Regions from separate parts of the Homo sapiens genome. Here all the other regions are linked to region 4. Evidence: promoter capture Hi-C in 16 types of primary human blood cells and fetal thymus (Javierre and others, 2016). All regions are on one chromosome and are shown on one strand. The core of a region is centred on a gene start or on the middle of the fragment in contact, and the rest is flanking DNA. Distances in the headings are between cores, read along the strand shown. Region 1 holds the start of MSH4 (mutS homolog 4). Region 2 holds the start of ATG4C (autophagy related 4C cysteine peptidase). Region 3 holds the start of FUBP1 (far upstream element binding protein 1). Region 4 holds the start of ANKRD13C (ankyrin repeat domain 13C).

The links. The method cuts DNA at HindIII sites, captures the fragments that hold promoters and counts their contacts. A CHiCAGO score of 5 or more calls a contact.
Region 1: the fragment with the promoter of MSH4 here is called in contact with the fragment with the promoter of ANKRD13C in region 4 in 4 of 17 cell types (total CD8 T cells, total CD4 T cells, total B cells and 1 more); the score reaches 15.6 in total CD8 T cells.
Region 2: a contact is called between the fragment with the promoter of ATG4C here and the fragment with the promoter of ANKRD13C in region 4, in 5 of 17 cell types (non-activated CD4 T cells, activated CD4 T cells, total CD4 T cells and 2 more). The highest score is 16.9, in non-activated CD4 T cells.
Region 3: a contact is called between the fragment with the promoter of FUBP1 here and the fragment with the promoter of ANKRD13C in region 4, in 1 of 17 cell types (non-activated CD4 T cells). The highest score is 5.2, in non-activated CD4 T cells.

Annotation. Positions count from the first base shown.
Region 1 is chr1:75,795,436-75,798,135 of GRCh38, forward strand. It overlaps MSH4 (mutS homolog 4), which reads left to right and starts at 1,447. Exons shown (of 20, transcript NM_002440.4): 1 at 1,447-1,794. The coding sequence starts at 1,551. The HindIII fragment of the contact is 6,934 bases long and covers 1-2,700 here.
Region 2 is chr1:62,782,717-62,785,416 of GRCh38, forward strand. ATG4C (autophagy related 4C cysteine peptidase) reads left to right here and starts at 1,416. Exons shown (of 11, transcript NM_032852.4): 1 at 1,416-1,557. RefSeq lists enhancers at 1,117-1,166, 1,267-1,326, 1,447-1,626 and a silencer at 1,602-1,896. The HindIII fragment of the contact is 3,523 bases long and covers 1-2,581 here.
Region 3 is chr1:77,977,643-77,980,342 of GRCh38, forward strand. It overlaps FUBP1 (far upstream element binding protein 1), which reads right to left and starts at 1,430. Exons shown (of 20, transcript NM_003902.5): 1 at 1,243-1,430. The coding sequence starts at 1,362. It also overlaps a transcript of DNAJB4 not described here. RefSeq lists enhancers at 994-1,043, 1,114-1,163, 1,174-1,233, 1,244-1,373, 1,684-1,833 and 1 more. The HindIII fragment of the contact is 9,300 bases long and covers 1-2,700 here.
Region 4 is chr1:70,353,274-70,355,973 of GRCh38, forward strand. It overlaps ANKRD13C (ankyrin repeat domain 13C), which reads right to left and starts at 1,449. Exons shown (of 13, transcript NM_030816.5): 1 at 706-1,449. The coding sequence starts at 1,135. ANKRD13C-DT (ANKRD13C divergent transcript) reads left to right here and starts at 1,538. Exons shown (of 4, transcript NR_168352.1): 1 at 1,538-1,935. RefSeq lists enhancers at 1-1,055, 315-1,233, 1,189-1,238, 1,234-2,151, 1,279-1,338 and 3 more. The HindIII fragment of the contact is 4,699 bases long and covers 989-2,700 here.

The DNA.
Region 1 (2,700 bases), core at 197-2,696, 5.4 Mb after region 4:
GTTTAAGCAATTCAGCCGCAGCCTCTCGAGTAGCTGGGACTACAGCCGCACACCACCATGCCCGGCTAATTTTTATGTTACTTTAGTACAGACAGGGTTTCACCATGCTGAGGAGCTGGAGACCAGCCTGACCTTGTGATCCACCCACCTCGGCCTCCCAAAGTGCTGGGATTACAGGCGTGAGCCACCACGCCTGGCCTAAAATGAGTACAATCACTCTAGGGGTTTACAGTTTTGGTGAAAGTGAGGTATTCTCTATTTTTAAATTTTATTTTTTAGAGACAGGGTCTTCCTTTCTTCCCCAGGCTGGGGCATAGTAGTGCAATCACAGCTCACTGTAACCTTAAACTCCTGGGCTCAAGCAGTCCTTCCACCTCAGCCTCCTGAGTACCAGGGTCTACAGGTACCTGCCACCATGCCCACTATGCCCAGCTGATTTCTTAATTTTGGGGACAGGCACTGTCTTCCCCAGGCTGGTCTCCGGAGGTGAAGTAATCCTCTGGCCTCAGTCTCCCAAAGTACTGGGATTACAGGGAGGAGCCATCGTGCCCGATCTGAAAATAAGGTTTTTTGATGGAAATTGAGATTTTTCTCAAGTATGTTTGGAATGCCCTGTGCAATAATCATTCCAAGAACAGAGATGTTCTTAAGGACTGTTGTCACTGCATGTGGGTAAACCGCTGTGCATAACTGGTTTATTGAGATACTCAACAGTGGCAGGATTTCAGTAGTGGTGTAAATTAATGTCTTCTAATAGCTTCTGTATGGCAGTATCCAGATAATTTCGTCATGTTTAATCCATGGATCTCTGGTAAGTTGGTACTATTGGCCTTATTTAAGGAATTTTCTAAAGGTCACCACTGCAAAGCTGGAGTTTGAACTTCTAGTGTGCCATTAACTGATTTATATGTTAGAAACCACAGTACTAGAAATTGGTAGATGGGGAATTGTTAACTGAGAGATCTTACCCAGTCAGTCTTTCCCTGTTTCCTACTCTACTATGCACACAGCCATGTGCATACTATCTTTTGATAATATAACTATCTTTCCTATATTTGGTCACAAGATCAACCTTAGGTGGGTTATGCTGTGTGAGCATTACACGTTCTCATTGTGTCAAAGGCACTGGGTGTACTGTGTTGGGTGGTTTCTACATTTAAAGATAAGCTAGTGTGCTTGGACGTGTGGGAAATGCATGTAACATTTGCAATAAGGGAGATTGGGTGCTGTGAGAATAATGGGGCTAACAAATCGGGTGGTCATTGATGGGCCTTGCAGAGTTCTGGTCAGTCTGATACCTGCAGGCTGAGGATGTTCCAGTGAGGTTCATGTGGAAAGTGATGGGTTTGGGAATGGCTGGAAGCAGGGTCATAGACCTGAAGTACGTGAATCCATGTGGAAAGCTGAGCCTGCCTGCGCCTGCGCAGTGCAGCTTAGTGCGTCGGCGCGCAGTTCTCCCGCCCGTTTCAGCGGCGCAGCTTCTGTAGTTGGGCTACTGGAGGGGTCGCTCAGAAACCTCATACTTCTCGGGTCAGGGAAGGTTTGGGAGGATGCTGAGGCCTGAGATCTCATCAACCTCGCCTTCTGCCCCGGCGGTTTCCCCGTCGTCGGGAGAAACCCGCTCACCTCAGGGTCCCCGCTACAATTTCGGACTCCAGGAGACTCCACAGAGCCGCCCTTCGGTCCAGGTGGTCTCTGCATCCACCTGTCCTGGCACGTCAGGAGCTGCGGGCGACCGGAGCAGCAGCAGCAGCAGCCTTCCCTGCCCCGCGCCAAACTCCCGGCCAGCTCAAGGCAAGGAGTGATTGGGTGGAGGAGTCTCCTTGAGGCTAGAGGCCGGCAGTTCATGGAGGCTCGGGGGCACGTGGGTGGTGGTTACCACAGTGAAGTTGTGATTTGGTTGGGGCGTGAGATCTGAGTGCCCTGGGAATTTGGTGAGTCTGGGTGATTAGAAGCCTTGACTTTTCAAATTGGTTCTATTGCAAGACCTTGACTGTGGATGGCTCAGTTCTGAGAAAGGCTGAAGTATCCCATATAACGTCCCTCACAGTGTCTGACAAATGACAGTTTGTGCGTGAGTTTGCTGATAGAAGTTGTGAGCTGATCTTTGGCTGCTGAATTTAATTCTCCAAATCCTGCTAAGGTGGGATAAAATAGATTAAATTGAACATTTCATCTAATTCAGGGAAAATAATATGTTTAGTATTAAAAGAGTGGGCTGGGCGGTGGCTGACGCCTGTAATCCCAGCACTTTGGGAAACCAGGGTGGGCGGATCACTTGAGGCCGGGAGTTCCACACCAGCCTGGCCAACATGGTGAACCTCCCACCCCCATCCCCTATCTCTACTAAAAGTACAAAAATTATCTGGGTGTGGTGGCACGTGACTGTGGTCCCAGCTACTCAGGAGGTTGAGGTGGGAGGATGGCGAGTCCGGGAGGTCGAGGCTGCCGTGAGCTGAGATTGCGCCACTGCATTTCAGCCTGGGTGACACAGTGAGACCCTGACTCAAAACAAACAAACAAAAAAGATGCATGTCCTTCAAATCATTTATTATTTTGTTAGTCTCTATTCATGACAAAGCATCACCATTTTTCACACACGATTGCAACACAATGGTAAAGTAACAAATACCAAATCCAATGGTCATTTTTCAGTTCATCTCATGTGACCTTTCTGCTGTATTTAATGTTCTTAATTTC
Region 2 (2,700 bases), core at 166-2,665, 7.6 Mb before region 4:
TAATTTCCTATGTAATTCAGAAGCATGTCTGGTAGTCCTTGCTCCAACAAAATCTGCGGTACTGTAAAACGGCATAGGATTACATTTTACAGTAACAGTATTTCTCTTGACATCATTTAGGAGTGAAGATAAAAATTTCCACTTATTTATTTATTTATTTATTTATTTTTACTTTTTTGAGACAGGGTCTTGCTCTGTCGCCCAGGCTGGAGTGCAGAGGCACAATCTTGGCTCACTGAAAACTCCGCCTCCCGAGTTCAAGCGATTCTCCCGCCTCAGCCTCCTGAGTAGTTGGGACTACAGGCGCGCGCCACCGCACCCGGCTAATTTTTTATATTTTTAGTAGAGACGGGATTTCACCATGTTGGCCAGGCTGGTCTGGAACTCCTGGGCTCAAGTGATCCGCCCGCCTCGGCCTCCCAAAATGCTGGGATTACAGGCGTCAGCCGCCGCGCCTGGCCAAAAATTTCCACGTTATAAAAAGCATCTTCGGACCGTCCTTTTTTCTTTCTTTCTTTTTCTTTTCCTTCTTTTTTTTTTTTTTTTCCCCACAAAGCCTCGCTCTGTCGCCCAGGCTGGAGTGCAGTGGCGCGATCTCTGCTCACTGCAACCTTTGCCTCCCGGGTTCAAGCAATTCTCCTGCCTCAGGCTCCCGAGTAGCTGGAATTACAGGCGCCCGCCGCCACGCCCGGCTAATTTTTTAATTTTTTAACAGAGACGGGCTTTCACCATGTTGGCCAGGTTGGTCTCGAACTCCCAACCTCAAGCGATCCACCCGCCTCGGCCTCCCAAAGTGCTGGGATTACAGACGCGAACCACCGCGCCCGACTGTCCTGTGTTTTAATGCTTGAAAATAATCTGAATATGGAAAATGAGTGCACATATCCCTTGATGTTTTATAAATAACCTACAGTCCTAATAATGGCTTGGCTTAGAGTTCCTTCACAACAGGAAAAGAAGGCATCCTGGCTTTTTTTTTTTTTTTTTTTTTAAATCAAAGTGAGGCTTGGGTTGGCTCTATCTTGGTCCTGAGTGCGAGGAAGGAGGGCCGCAATGCATGCTGGATCTTGCAGTTCCTACGCCAGAGGCAAGGGCGTGATGCTGCATGGCCTGCTGGTAGTTGAAGTCCAAGTGCTCGAGAGGAATTTATGGCAGCCGTAATGTGGTTTGTCTATCAGAGAGACAATGCTCACAGACGGATACTTTCTCTTGGTTCTGCGCTTGCTGCATTGGTGGATTAGCGGCTTGGGGTGGCGAACAGGTGGGAAAAAGGGATGGATAAAGTAAGCATAGCAGAGGCCTTTACGCCGCTGCTATCGCTACTGCCAATCGCAAGGCTTTCGTATCCCGGAAGTGGCTGATCTGTTGGATTTGACGCGGAGGCGGTTCCTCTTACTACGGTGGCCGGGGTGCTCAAAGTACCTGTAGCTGCGGCGCTGAGGTCGGAACGTCTGCGTGTGTGCGGGCTGGTTTTGTGGCGGCTGCTGCTAGAGCTGGAGCATTTGCCGGGTTGGTGGCTCCTGCACATTTTTACAGTTCTCCAGTCCTTCTCTTTCGGTGAGGGATCGGCTTGAGGCTAAAGGAGTCAAGAAGTTTGGGACTTAGCGTCTCTGGTCCCCGAATGACTGGGTTTCTTGCGGGGGTCCGCCTTCAGTGAAGACCCTGTGGCCAACCATCTGGGTTCTCTGAGGGTTTTGGCGCCTTCCTTGTCTCTCCTTTCTAGTGTCATTTGTCTTCTAACTCTTCCTCGCTTTGTCCTGGGTTGCAGAGATAAACCGTAAGCCTAACTGTGGGCAGCTGTTCCTCCTTTCCTTGTGGTTTTCTTAGATGTTGCAGGCAAGACTCTTTCCCCTGATCTATCGCATCCATTTGACCCCTCCTCATGCCAGTGCTCTGTCGGCCCTGTTTTTCCTCGTTTAAAAAATAAAAAAAGGGAAATAATAATAATAACTGGATCCCCACTGTCTCTCTGTTCTCATTCCTAGCCTCTTTCTCCCTTTTTGGTGTTTGTTACTGCTTCAAGCCATAACACACTGCCTTGCATATATTAATGCCTTTCCATCTAAATATTAACGTTCATTCACTTCATTTGGTTCCCGCTCACCGTGAACTCTCCCAACCCTACCCACATCTAAGGGCTTTTGAGGTTGGAGGTGTAGAATAAATTCTTACATATGATGACTATATTCATATATGAGAACCTTCAGCGGTCAACTCAGCATCACTGCTTATTGAGTTTATATTTCTTGTGATTTCTTTGGCTTACCTTTTCGTTTTGTATTGGTTATTTACCCACATGGGGCTCACTGCTACCCTATAGTTACAGAAGAATACCTCGTCTTACATCTTTTTATATCCGAATTACTTAGGAGTTTTCTTATGTTTTCCTGCTCGGACCATATGTCCCCGGTGGGTTTTTGGCAATGATTTTGTGTCAGTTGATGGCAGAAAGAGACAAGGGAATGATCTTCTTGCTTGCTTGTGACTTGTAATTAGATTATGAGCCATTGAGAATACCCAGAGGGAGTGGAAAGGCTTTGAAAGGTAAAGTCTATGTATTTTCTGAGTTTCAAATTGATAAAGCTTCTTCTTTGAACAGGAAGAGTTTCTATTTAGTCCAATAATCTGAGGCTATATTGAATTACCAGTTCATTCGCTATAAAATTTTTAGAACCACATGTCAAAAAGTGGCCCATCTAA
Region 3 (2,700 bases), core at 180-2,679, 7.6 Mb after region 4:
GTTTTACAAATCAATCTAATAAAACACGCTAAGAGTGTTTGTCATAGTTATATGCTTGTTGCTAAACATGTTCAGAATTTCTTAAATTACGTGGAAAAAACCGCAGAACTAATATTAATGATGACCTTTTGTTGACTACTCCTAGTATTTCTGGTTATAAAAAAGTACAGGTACATGTTTATAATGCGTTCACATTAGATGTGTTACAACGGATTTTATGAATTCTAATTTTGACTCAATGTTCCTTCAACTGTCCCGGTAAAAAGTTAACTAAGTGAACTCCTAATGCAACGAAAACACAGCACAACACTGGTTTCTAATTATCATTAGCTTAAAACTAGTAAAAAATGCCCAGCACCTAGTACAATATGCATAGTGTCACAGAGAATAGGATTCTTTTGCTTACATGCAAATCTATACCAACACCATACATTTTGAAATGTTAAATATATTAGGGGACTATCTAAGAATGTAAAGTTCAAATTAAGGTATCTTTTATTTTCCTGGAATACACGCACTATTTTAACAGCTTTCGTCTGGGAAAGTGGTGCCTTCAGGGCAAATGCACGCACTACGTAATACAAAGAGGTCTGGTCAGTTTACGACTCTGAACTGAGAGGCAGATTCAAATTGAAACCTCTGGTATAATGGGCCTGAGGCCATTTTGAGAAATAAGGGGGGCGGACTGGTGGAACAGACTGACACGTAAATCCCGCCCAGAAAAAGGCTGCTTTCAAGTCCCTTCCTTGTAGAGGTGTGACGGTGAATGGTACTGAAAGCGGTTTTAATTGCGAGAGAGAACGGAAATGAGCTGTAAAGGCTACTTTAATGATAAATCCCTTCCCTTGCTATGGCTCCAGGACAGACCCTAGTTCTTTCCCAAACTCATTACCAGAACCTTCCATTAAATTGTGTGAAACTAACTGCGCTTTATCCCCTGGAAGAGGATCTTTATCTAAACTAGCTCACTGGAGACACGCGAGTGCCGCAGAAGCGGGAGAAAGACTTCAGGCCTTCTTTGCGTAGCACGCGTCGGGGTTCTAAGTGGATTAGGCACCAAGAACACAAAACTGGGTTCTGGTCTCTAATCGTTATTACCAACATGGGGAAACGTGTCTCTTCACATTTCAGCCCGGAAGAACACCTCTTTCCTCTTCCTCATGCGCTTAAGGGTAGCGGCCTACTCAGTCAGCGGCCAATTACCGTGAGCTTTCGGGATTCCGCCGCGCGGTCCACACTTACCTGCCGGGCTCTCTGCAGTGCATCTTTGAAAGCGTCGTTAACTCCTCCACCACCACCGCCGCCACCACCGCCACCAGCTGAGCCAGAAGAGGGGGGAGGCACTGTTGAATAGTCTGCCATGGTTGCACTATAAGAGCCGCTGCCGCCTGTTCAGAGACTTCCTCTCAGCTAACAGCTAAGAAAGAAAGAAAATGGCGGCCGTCGAAGCTCTATTACATTCTTGCGCGACCATCGTGCCGTAAAGGGGCGGAGACTGAAGGAACAAAATCTCGCGATGTTTCCGAGGCAACGCGCTGGTGTGGGTTAGGGCTGAGAAAGAACGACAGGAACAGAGACGTCGCGAGGATTAAGTTTAAGACTTCGCGAGAACAGAATTTCTTTTGGCACCTCCTCTCCGCGCGTTCTTGGGGTGAGGCTGGGTAATTGTTCCTGCAGGGTGGTGGGTGATAGTGGCCAGTTGACTGCGACTGTGTTTGGGTGGTGGGAAGCCTGAAGAAAAGGTTGTTTCTTACCGGTCGCTGCCTCAGGGAGGTAGTGCGGTAGAATTTTCCGCTATGGGTCATTCTCGGTGTCCGCGGGGAAGGGCGTGACAACGACGGGCGTGACGGCGAAGCAACAGTGTCTCGAGAGCGCTGCCGCCCGGAGGGCGCCAGGAGAAGTGCGTCCGAGACGCCGCGCGGTGATGCTCCTGAAAACGTCTGCCCGGCGTAGCGGGAACCCAGCATGATTTTCAGGGTAGTAAAGTGTCCCTGTATTTTACTTACAGACTGTCCGATTTTTTAGTTTTATCACGAGGGTGGGTGTTGAATTCAGGCTGGAAGCCTGTTAGTTCTCGACCATATTTTAAGTTTTTTGTTTAAAATAATGTGGATGAGGCTCTAAAAGTATGACTGCCCTTTTCTTTATCCAAAAACGTGATTGTTCTTAAAGTTCAGTGTTAGCCAGATTTAATAACCTAGTATATGTATGTGTCCATGGCCATTTTTATTAAGGGTTTTTTTTTGTTTGTTTGTTTGTTTTGAGAGTCTCGCTCTGTTACCCAGGCTGGAGTGCAGTGGCGCGGTCTCGGCTCACTGCATCCTCCGCCTCCTGGGTTCAAGCGATTCTCCTGCCTCAGCCTCCCGAGTAGCTGGGACAACAGGCGCCTGCCACCACGTCTGGGCTAATTTTTTGCGTTTGTAGTAGAGACGGGGTTTCACCGTGTTAGCCAGGATGGTCTCGATCTCGTGACCTCGTGATCCACCCGCCTCGGCCTCCCAGAATGCTAGGATTATAGGCGCGAGGCACTGCGCCCGGCCTGTTAAGGTCTCTTAAGTTAAGAACAGCATTGTTTCTTGACCAAAATAGATTTTGTAGCTTCTTAGGCGTAGTTTCTCCCACCCCATCCTGTGGGTACTCAAATGTAAGATCATATTCTGAATTGTCATCACAGGACTAGGTATATATATATATATATGT
Region 4 (2,700 bases), core at 199-2,698:
AAATTACCATAAAAATCATAATACTATTTTTAGTCACAGTCATCAAGATGAGACATTACTATTAGCAATTATCTACTTAAAACAAGCAAAAAATCAAATCTCTACTCAAACAAAAATCGGCTGTTGAGAAGTCACTTTAACTGTTCTACGTATCAAATACCAACAAATTTCTACTGTGTGGCTTTCAGAAATCTAACATTCTAAGTTTACTGAAAGCAGACAAAAAAGAAACAACCTGGTGGCAGGCAAAATCACAACCAGTTGCAGTCAAGATGGGATCTGTATGTGAGCAATGAAGGGAGGAGGGCAATTTATGCGTTCAAAATTTAAAATGCCAAGGTAGGGGGAAGAGAGAGAAATAAAGATATATAGCTCCATAAACAAAGGGAGAAAACCATGTTGGGTGGGAGGCAACCTAAAATTTCTGACAGTCCAGAATCAGCAAATCGAAGGCCTGTCTCAAACAAAACAGCTTCTCACGACAAACTTTGAAGTGGGCAAGGAGGATACATTCCTTTGCACCCACAAGAACCAACCCCTTGACCACTGGCACGCTATTACTGAGTCGATCATGATTTACCGAACGGCCCGGATGATGGGCAAAAAGAAGAGTCTGCTGGAGGGGGCCTAGGATTCCAGAAGCCTGGGGAGGCACACCCTAGGCTCGGGGAAGGAGAGAGGTGGAGAGGGGCTAGCACTCCTCACCGTGATTATCTTTCTGCCCGATATTGTGCGTGCGGATGAGAGAGGAGAGTCTCCTCACATCCCCCTTGAAGACGCACTCGTGCACCGGGTAGTGTGCGGGGCAACTGCCTCCATCCGCGACGACAGCAACGGGGTTGGTGCCGGCCAGAAGGGCCGGGGACTGGGAGTTGGCAGTCACGGAGGAATTGTGCAGCGGCAGAGCCGGGGCGCCGGGGGGATTGGAGGAGGCCGGAGCTGCCTTCAGCTGTAGCCGGTGGTGATGGTTACTGAAGATCTTATGACAAGCTTTGCCGCCCTTGCCAATCCTGCTTCTGGTAAAGGTACCGCCGAGGGCAGCCGCCGCTTCCTCATCCCCGGGCTCCAGCAGGTCCCCTTCTTCTTTGCTGGGCTTGTGGTCCCTCCGCAGTGAGCGGATCTTCTCCCCGGTCATCGCCGCCGCCAGGGGCAAGGGGGGGAATCGGGAGGCTCACCGCTGGCGACGGAGCTGGCGCTGCGGCGGCACAAGGCGATTAGAGCGGTGGCCAAGAGCCTCCAGCGCAGCATGAACTCCCACTGAGCCCCCGAGCCTGGGACAAACGCATCTCCCGGGGAAGAGCCGGCTCTCGCCTAGGCACGAAGGGACGCGCGCTCGCTGGGGGAAGCTAGAACTCAGGTGCCCACGACACCAGGATCTCAGTCTCGCCGTCGCAGCCGCCGTCGCTGCCTTACACCGAAAAACAGGGCACGGCCATCTTCCTCTTGCTCCTCTCGCGAGAGCTCCCCCAGGAGTGAAGAGAGAGAAAACACCGCGATAAGTGAGCCACCCGCTCCCTCCCTCGCACCTTCTATTCCCAGAATCACTAGGCGCCGGCGCCTCCGAGGCAGTGTGTTTCCGCCCAGAGCTGGAGTCTCCCAGCTGCCAGCCGACCCCGAACCCGCACTCCCGCCAACCGCGCTTTTTGTGGGCGGTCGGAAACCACAGCCTCCGTTGGATATGTTCGGTGCATGTTATAAACAACCACTTAAACCCTCCGGATCTGAGCCTCCCGCAGAGGAATGCAGAATGACGCCACGGCACGCAGGATGTGATGTCACCGAGATGCAGAGGATACTCAGTCAACCAACATTTACTGAGCATCTACTTCGTGCCGTATGTACGAAGCTAGCAAATATGTACAGCACCAGTACTGATTGCAGGGAGCACTGTAGAAGAGGAATGAAGGCCAAACAATTAAAAGCGGAGGCGGGGAGGTGGGTTGCACACAAAAAAGGGAGGGACGAATTTTAGTGTTGAGTTGTCAGGAAAGTCATAGAAGAGTTTAGGTGCTGACTTTGGAAAATGATGGGCTGTCCAGCAATCGGAAAGAGGGGAGGCCACTCAAATATTTATTAGATGAATGAATTTCGGGCAGATGTCAGAGTTAACATATATGAGGGTGGGGACACTCAAGGAGGGCAAAGAATCGTGTAACTGAAATATAATTGTATTAGTTCATGGCCAACCTCAACCTAGTGTCAAACTCTGAAGAAACGTAAATCTGCCAACCATAAAACTTTAACAAAGTAACTAAAGCTGGCCACTGAGGACGTAAGGAGGGGGCTTAGCAAAACATCCTAAAGATCTTCACCCATTTAACTCTCCAAAGTCCCCCTATGTTCTGAGAGCAAATACTTCAGATCTCTCTCTCTTTTTTTTGTTTTTTTGTTTTTTTGACAGAGTCTCTGTAGTCCAGGCTAGAGTGCAGTGGTGCAATCTCGGCTCACTGCGACCTCCACCTCCCAGGTCCAAGCGATTCTCCTGCCTCAGCCTCCAGAGTAGCTGGGATTATAGGCCTGCGCCACCACACCAAGCTAATTGTTGTATTTTTAGTAGAGACGGGGTTTCACCGTGTTGGCCAGGCTGGTCTTGAACCCCTGACCTCAGTGATCCGCCAGCCTCAGCCTCCCAAAGTGCTGGGATTACAGGCATGAGCCACTGCGCCCGGCCAGATCTCTTCTTTCTTAAAGTTTATACTA